Regions from separate parts of the Homo sapiens genome. Here region 1 is linked to region 2. The links are contacts of gene promoters, found by promoter capture Hi-C in human tissues and cell types (Jung and others, 2019). All regions are on one chromosome and are shown on one strand. The core of a region is centred on a gene start or on the middle of the fragment in contact, and the rest is flanking DNA. Distances in the headings are between cores, read along the strand shown.

What was found. Contacts are between HindIII fragments. The study calls those that stand out against the background at their distance.
Region 1: a contact is called between a fragment that was not itself captured here and the fragment with the promoter of COL5A2 in region 2, in 2 of the 25 tissues and cell types used here (aorta and mesenchymal stem cells).

What each region holds. Positions count from the first base shown.
Region 1 is chr2:189,134,387-189,138,729 of GRCh38, reverse strand. The region is part of intron 1 of COL5A2 (collagen type V alpha 2 chain); the gene reads left to right. Among named protein-coding and RNA genes, the nearest start is that of MIR3129, 3.4 kb to the right of the region's middle. The HindIII fragment of the contact is 3,329 bases long and covers 280-3,608 here.
Region 2 is chr2:189,178,040-189,182,972 of GRCh38, reverse strand. COL5A2 (collagen type V alpha 2 chain) reads left to right here and starts at 3,212. Exons shown (of 54, transcript NM_000393.5): 1 at 3,212-3,465. The coding sequence starts at 3,369. The HindIII fragment of the contact is 11,142 bases long and covers 1-4,933 here.

The DNA of each region.
Region 1 (4,343 bases), core at 695-3,194, 43 kb after region 2:
TTTGTGTGTATGTACTTTTTTACTTTCGGTTACTATAAGATGTTCTAGGTTCGTTTTGTATATTTATTGGCCCAGTCCTAGAATCAGCTGTTTATTCAAAGAGCTCTTGTTCCTTATATTGGAGAATGCTATCAGAAACCACAATCTGGGACCTAGGTGTGTTCATTGCTACTTGGGAGTTGTTGCTTCTGTGTTCTGTCAGCTGACAGAGCAAGGAAATATATATGTGTGTACTAATAGTTGTATATACAAATATCTATATATATTTCAATTAAGCATGTATGAGTTAATATTTGGAAGCAGAGACAGTAGAATCGCCTGAGAAGAAATCTGAGCATTTCTTCTCAGATTTTTCCTATATGTGATATATAAACAGAAGCAAATCAAGACATATTAATAAGTAAGATAAGGGTAGAGCTAGACAGAGGCTGGAAATAATACCTTAAAAATATACCGGGCCGGGTGCATTGGCTCACACCTGTAATCCCAGCACTTTGGGAGGCCGAGGAGGGTGGATCACAAGGTCAGGAGTTCGAGATCAGCCTGGCCAACATGGTGCAACCCTGTCTCTACTAAAAAATACAAAAATTAGCTGGGCATTGTGGCATGCACCTGTAATCCCAGCTACTCAGGAGGCTGAGGCAGGAGAATTGCTTGAACCTGGGAGGCAGAGGTTGCAGTGAGCCGACATCATGCCACTGCACTCCAGCCTGGGTGACTGAGCAAGACTCCATTTTATATATGTATATCCTAAACCTGGAGTCCTCAACTGGATTAGGCCCACACAGATATTTTCCTGGGCTCAAACAGTGCTTTGAAAAACTATTAGAATTACATCATTAACATCAAACAATTGAGAGATGTCAAACACAAATATTGATTTCTATCTTCTCTTTAAAATTTGCCAGGTCTGAGAAATCCTAGGCACACATCATTTATGCACCCATCACCTTGTGCTGAATGGTGGTTCAAGCCTTCATGAGTATTGCACAAGCCCCAGTTCAACAGCCCATCTACCCATCCCCCGCCCCCAACTCACTGTCTTCTGCACAGTTAGAAGCTAGCTCAGGTTCTAGTCCATGTGCTGCTGTTTTTTCTATTGTAGAGGAGAAAGGAAAATATTTCCTGGATCCATGGCTAACAAATTAATAAGATAAGAAAAAGCATTTTCCTCTAAGTGAAAAGTATCATTTTTTGTTTAATACACAATGTGTGACTACATCAAAAGAATATTACTTAAAATTTCAGTACAAAATCAACCCAGCTCACCAAATTTGGATTTCTCTAATCCTGTGTTCTTCAATAGTGATCAGAACATAAGTCTTCCTTCTTGCTACTTGTACAAAATGACTTCATCAAGTAACATGAGCCAATACAGAATTTGGATTTAGGCGTGGCCTTGATATATATGTTATTATTAGATTTCAAAACTTCAGAAGACATCTCTCATGTAAGAGTAGGACTTCATTTTCTGTGATAATTTTATACCTCTTGTCATTTCCTATAAAAGACCAATGATAATTCACTCAAGATCCATAAATCACATTCTATTGCTATATTTAATGTATTATGTTTGTGTTTTTGCTTGAAGAGATTGGTCCAGTTAGTTTTATTCAGAATAAACACGAACGAAGAAAACATTTGTTAACTGTAGATTAATAATTGTAATTATAGAACCTATAATATAGATTTCTACTACACTAAAGAGATGGAATTTAGATTCAGCATTTTATTTGACATTTGGCTTCTATTTTTCAAAATGATGAATATTATCAGACAATAAAAAGTTTGGGCCATCAGCAGTTAAAATGAAAATAAAGTTCAGATTGTAAGTAGCTGAAAGTGAAGCAAGTTTATAGCTTGCCATGTTTTACTAACTGAACCAAACTAAATATATTTGGCAAGACAATGTACTTGTGGCAAGAAAATGGAAAAAAGCAGTGTGATTACTTGAATAAGGTTGAATTTAGGTCTAATTCCAAGTATTAAAAATAAATGTAAGATAAAATATAATAACTATTATAAAATATAACATTAAAAAGTATAGAAAGATCAGGTTTGGAAATTTGACTATCTCTTTTCCCCACTCTCCATATCATTGTATTATTGTTAGCATCATAAAATTTCATAGTGTTTATGTCTGTCTGTGTAAACATACAAACACAAGATTTCTCCATTGTTATACATGTATGATATTTTTATATACATATATATTTATAAAAAAGAAAAAATATACAGATGCCAAATGTGAGTGTATATATAACTACCTCCTAGTTAACCTGTGTAACCACACCTGTGTAAAAGAAAATATCTATATCCTCAATACACACATATGAAGCTTTTACATATATATAAGTATATACATATATAAGCATATATATAAATATGTATTTATATACATGTAAATTTGTACTCAGGTATTTTTGTGTACATAGCAGTAAGGTTTTCATTAGAAGATGCTGATTAGCTCACTGGAAACTTTCTGGTTTGCAGAATAATATGTTGTCTTTTTATACACAAATTAATTTCCTATGAACATGTGTAGCATAGATTAGCATTAAAAATTAATCTGATAAATACAAGGTGACTTAACTATTAAGTTTCTGCACTTTCAGTGCTGAGAAAACAGAGCTTTAGTCAGGCCTAGCTCAGTAAGTCCCATCCCACTCGCAATCATTTTATTCTAACACCTCCCTGAACATAGCCCATCCAGGGAATAAATGTGACTGGTGGACCTCTTTCTCTGCTGATCCTCCTTACTGATGAAAGGTTTACACCTGCAATAACACTCTCTTGTTTCAAATCCAGGGCCTATCACTTATGAGGGATGGGAGTTGCTGTGAGCTACTGTTGGTTGCCTCATGGGAATGATACTGTTTATTGAGGATTAAGTGAGATCAAGAATATAAAACAGTTAGGACAATATATAGCACATATTAAGTATTCAATGAATGTAAGCTTCTATTGCTGCCTCTCCTATTACCACTATTATAGCTACTACCAATTTAAACAAAATCCTTTTAAACTGAATGATCTTTTAATATCTCTTATAAAATATGTGTTCTTTTTCATTAATCTGGAGATTTCCTAAATGTGTAGATATAAGCATAGTGTTTGCAACTACTTGAAGCCAAAACAATTGAAAGACATTAGCCTACGGATTATGAATGATAAACTGCCATGTGGAGTATTATCTTTTGTTCTTCAGTTCACTGTTTGTAACCAATATTTATGACACAGAGAAGTAGGATTTGTCAGAAATCATTGCAGTACTTCATTTTCAAGCTTAGGCAGTATTTCTTTTACCAGATATGTACTCTGCAGATTCATAGAGCGTTCAAAGCCCATGTGTTACTCTTAATAACTCACAACTGACTGTGTGGCAATATTTTCTCATAAAATATCTCCATTATAAATTATGTATTACTTAAATATCCAGGTTAGGAAGAAAAAAGTTGCTAATAGGGTTGAGGTAATAGTCCAGTAATCCATGAGCATCTGTGGTAGGTTCTGTTTTTATAATTTGGTTGTTTTGAATTAGAATGTATATGGTTTTAAATTAAGCCAGTCATTTTTTATTATTTGACTACAGCCATGATGTAAGCTGAAATGGAAAATAGGAATAGAAAGATAACAAGAAGAAAAGTTGTGACTTGAATTGAAGATTTATTACATATGTTATATGTAGTCCAGCCAACCCAACGTTATGAGCTGGAGATATGAATACTATCCTTAAAGGCAAGATAACTTTTCAAAACTTTAAAATTAATGCCTTGTATAACTTCTCAGTCTGTACTAATTTCATGTGGTTAATAAGGCATGCAGAAGCTAATGTTGTTACTAATGAAAAATTAATTGGGATTAGAAGAAATTTCATTTTCTAAATAATAAAAACTGATTGTCCACCCTATTTTCCTGATTTTAGCCAAGCTTAAGAGATGTATGTGCAACTCTTTTGAATGGCATTTATGACATAACTTGTTTCATTTTCCTGAAATTTGCCCTTGGTTTGTTGTTTGCTGACCCTCAAATTCCAGGAAGGCATTTTCATGTAGGATTTTTTTATTCTATGAGTTCATCAATTTTGAATTTGCTTTATGCAAAACTGTTGACAATGATGTACTTTCTAAAATTTATTTCTGAGATGGAGTCTCACTCTATTTCCCAGGCTGGAGTGCAGTGGCGCAATCTTGACTCACTGCAACCTCCGCCATCCGAGTTCAAGCGATTCTCCTACCTCAGCCTCCCGAGTAGCTGGGATTACAGGCACGTGCCACCACACCTGGCTAATTTTTGTATTTTTAGTGGAGACGGGGTTTCGCCATTTGGCTAGGCTGGTCTGG
Region 2 (4,933 bases), core at 1,963-4,462:
GGAAAGGTACTAGCAGAAGAAGAAAGGTGGAAGGTAGAGAAGAGAGAAGGAGACACTGACAGAGTAACATCTGCAAGGAGATTTGAAGAAATGGGATAAGGAGTGCAGAGGGAGGGATCATCCCTGAAAGGGCGCTGAGACAATTTTTCTTATAAGCCAGAGCATATAAATATGTGTGTCATGCATCAAGCTCAGCAGAAGTTCGGAGAAAGGGAAGATTATAAAATGAGATTAGGTAAGTAAGGCATTATCACTTTTCTTGGTGGAAGAAATACAAGAACCTTTGATTTTTATTATTTGTTTTTCTGTTATTCTTCCTGAATATTTAGCAAGGTGGTTTACAAGTCCTGATTTTCTCATATATTCCAGAAAGAAGTAGCTGAAGGGTGATTTTTGGTGCTTACTCAGCCCATTCATTAATTGGAAATAGGCTCCTCCTGGGGACAGTGTGGTGGTAATAGAAGTTTGAGTGTCAAGTAGGTCTAAAAAGAGCTAAAAAGGGGTGAGAACATTCACTCTGGAGTCAGACATCACTGAAGTGGAACCCTAGATTTATTGCTTATTAGGTGAGCAAACTTGAGCAAGTAAACATCTTTGAACCGTAATCGCCTATATATGATTTGAGAAAAATAATAAGTACCTTTCAGGGTTGCTGTGAGAATTGGAAAATATTCACCCACTAGCACATATTATTACAAAACATACACTGTTAGGATAGGCTTCACTGGAATTGGGACAGATTTCTGAGTACCCCACTGCAGCAGTGAGGTCTATAATCAGTTCTTTAAGGACTAAGAAATGGCATTGTCCTCTATTCTGAATTCAACCACATATATTAAACAGATATTCCTGGTCAATACCTGTGTATATTTTAGTCTTTTCCAAATTGTAATGTGGGACCCTAAAACCAGACATAGAGAAAAAGCCCAAGTTGCAAAATACTTTGCTATTTATGACTTGATTGCAATAAGATTTCAAGAGTTCACAAGGACAATATGGAATATTTACTTATCTCAGGTCTTCTGACAAATATTTGCTATGCTTCTGTCATACCATGAGCTTTCAGTAGGGTGGGAAGAGGAGATTGAAACTGGTGGCAACCATGAGAGACTGCATGGTGGTTTTAACCTTTCTTATATAAGCCATGTTTATAGTTAAATTTAAAACAACTTTATTAACAAACAGATAACAGATACTAAACTACTGATCTGAGCAGCCACTGAGTGTTCCATACACTGACTCTGCTACAAGTCCTGCAATCTTGCCTAATCATTGTTTTATCTCCAGCATAGGATCTGAGAGTTGTAGATTCTCCATAAATGTCTGCCGTCTTGCACTTCAGTAAAAATGCTGCACAAGGTGCCTGAAAATTGTGCCAGCCCTTCGGTATCAGGGTGGTATTGGTCTAAAATTGCCTCATGGTAGAATAGGACTGGCAAGCTCAGAGAAAGGTTAATTCCTCCCCCCCACATTTACTTATCTTCCTGTTATCTTTGAATATATAGTCAGATGGATTTCAAGTCCTAGCCTCTCTAAGATATTCTAGAAAGAATTAACTGAAAGGTGATTTTTGGTCCTTACTTAGCCCATTCATTAAGTGGAAGGGCACCCCTGAGAACAGTGTGGTGGTGACAGAAGTCATTGAAATGGGACATGTCTAAATGAAAAGATAAACTGAGAGGTACAGGGTTAGAAGCTGGAAACAACCGGGAAAATTGACCTCCACTGGAATATTTATCCAGAGTCTAGTTCCAAAGCTAAAATGCAAAGGTTCTTGGATTTCTTCTATTAAGAACAGTAATAATGTCTTGCTTGCCTAATCTCATTTGATAATTTCTCCTTTCTCCGGGCTTAATGCATCCCTCACATATTTATATGCTCTGGCTTATATATCTTTATTTCTTGTAAATTTAGTTTCTCAACACCTACATATGTTCCTTGAAGGTGATGGGTATGTCTTTTATTTCTTTTATGTCATCCTTTCTGCCCAGTGCTTAGCACAGTGCAAGGCACCTGTTGCCCAATAATTATAAACAATTGACTCACTTGTATTGTATAGAACATCCATCCTGATTCTAGGGAGACTCAAGGTGGCAAATACATTAGATTGTATAGAACTCTCTGAGGTCATTAAGATCTTGGCAAGTGTGAGGGTGGCACAAAAGTTCATCGATAATTTTCCTTAAAATGCATGTTCAACTGGGGCTATCATATTCCCTGCAAAGCTGGCTTAAAGCTAATAATACCACCATCTGCTTTTATGTAGCTCTTTGCAATTTGGAGCTTCATTAATAATACATTACTCATTTTAGTGTCACTAAACCCTGTACACTGGTCAGGGTAAAGCCCTTTTCTCAAATGAGAAAATTGGAGTGCACAGAGATAAAGGACTATATGCACATTTACAAAATTATTGAGTGGCAGAACCACTCACAAAAGGCAGAAGCAAGCCTTTTTTCATCCAAAGGTAGAGTACTTCCCATTCCTCTGCACTGCTTAGTAGACTATTTTTCAACATGGTAAAACTCTCTGGGACAAGAGGAACCTGAAGATGTGGCCCCTTAACAAGAGATGTGGAGAAATTAGGAAAGGACATGCTTTCTTAATTCAAATTACAATGTATCACAAATTCATTTATCCAAAATGGTTTTCTAACCTGGACTTTACCTGGGCAACATTCTAATAATCTCCTTCCAGAGTATGGGAAAAGAAACCGAATCTGAGAAGGGGATAAGAATACTCCCTATTCAGTCAAAAGAAAGGGTTAAAATGTGATTGTTTAAAGATTTAAGGTGGAGAAGAGAGTCTTGAATTATCTAAATGTAAAAAAACTAGGGTAAAAGGCTGGATTTCCTTCGGAATGTCTTTTTCAGCTTATAGGGGAAAAGTTAAAGGGTGTGTGTCTGGGGGGAAGGGTTAGGGAGGGGAAAATAGAACCCTTTTCTTCTAACAGCCTTTCTTAAAAAATAAAAGAAAAGAGAAACAAATGTTTGTTTCTGTTATTAAGCCCCATCTATGCTTAAAAGTTAAATGAAATAGGGAAAGTTCAGGCACAGAGACGCGTGTTCTGATTTGGTTGTTTACCATCAATCAGACCGTTGCTTGGCAGACACTGGATGGTTATGAGCCTGAACAAGCTGAAAAGGGGCAGGAAAAGAAGTGGAGGCAGCATTCTTCCTATTTAAAGCTGCATCGCTTGAAAAAAGTTTTCGCAGACTGTGCTGGAGCTGGTGCTGAAAAAGGGGGTTTGCAGAGGCTGCCCTGGGGCTGGTGCTGAAAGAAGAGCCCACAGCTGACTTCATGGTGCTACAATAACCTCAGAATCTACTTTTCACTCTCAGGAGAACCCACATGTCTAATATTTAGACATGATGGCAAACTGGGCGGAAGCAAGACCTCTCCTCATTCTTATTGTTTTATTAGGGCAATTTGTCTCAATAAAAGCCCAGGAAGAAGACGAGGATGGTGAGTTTGCCATTTGCTTTGCTTGTAGTGTTTATTGCACGGTTTGGGAAATAGGTGGAATGTTAAGCCTCAGGAAGAGCGTGAAGAGGAGGTTCTGGTTTGAAGTTTGAGAAGGGGGCTGACGGATTTGCACCTGGAAAACGACTTGAAAGACAATTGGGATGTTTGTAAATCCGGAGCTTCTAGATCCACCGTTGGAGAGAGTACACTACTAAATTTTTCTGGGAAAGCCTACAATAAGTCCTTTTGGCTGAGTGTGAGAGTGGGACGTTTAAAATAAGAAAAGAGTGAATGCTTAAAACGGAGCACTAAAGGCATTTTAGTTAGAGGAGCTCTGTTCTGTGGGCTGGAGTTTTCAGAGCAAGGAAAAGTCGCGGCAGAAGCTGGGTAGGGTGGAGTCTTTTTGTACTGAACTTCAGCTGCTTCATAAAATTCTTTGTTTAGTAAAACCTCTGCAGCAACTCTGATAGCTTTGATTTTTCTTTGTCTTTGGCTCCTCATTCTTTCCTCTTTAACAATTTAAACTTCTTTTTACCATTTTCATTTGTGAAAATGTGATCACTTTTGCTTACTGGGAGGCAGTCTCGTTTGTTTCTCCATGACAGAGGCTGATAGAAGCCAGATTTCTTAAACAGTGGTATTTTCCCACCCTACTGGCTTGATTAACAGGACAGTGGTGGTTCCCGGTTGGATGGCGGAAGGCAGGAAATCAGCATGTCTTGTATATATCTTATTTGGCATGGAATATTTGCATGGACATTACCCCTTAGACCCAAGCTTTTTTTTTTTTTTTTTTTTAAAGATAAATCTTGCCTGGTGACCACATTTTTTTCCTATGCAATTTTCATATGTTACAGTTGGGTTATATGGTATGGTTAAGCAAAAATGCATAGCTGTTGTAGTATATAAGAAAATATTTAAATTGATTCCTCTATTAAATCTTTAATCTTGAGGGTTGCAATTTCAAATACAGACATGTACTCCTTTAAAATAAGCCACTGTAGATTTTCATCAACTCAACCATGTAACATCAAACTCAAGCTTTTAAAACTTTGGACATTCATTAACCTTTTCTATTACTTTCATATATAGACACATACATACAGGTATATATGTATATATACTATGTATATATCTATATTTTTAGAACAAATATCTGCTTCTGTGTGTTTTTGGTTTCAAAAAGTTTATAAAATTAATCTAGAGATCAGAAGTTCTAAAAAGCTTAAAAAGTGAAAATACGAATTTGTAAATGAATATCCAACAATCTGTCAGGAGTCCCATAGAGGGGGCACTTTCTAAGACTTGGAGCTTTTTATGTTACGTTTTATGTTTTTAAAATATGAGGTAATTTATAAAAGGTGAAAACTTTTGAGTTTCTTTGTAATGGCATGAAAAGCATGTGTTGTTTGGAAGGGTGGCAAAAATAATTGAATAGAAAGTAGAAGAAAACAGGAGGAGAAAAACA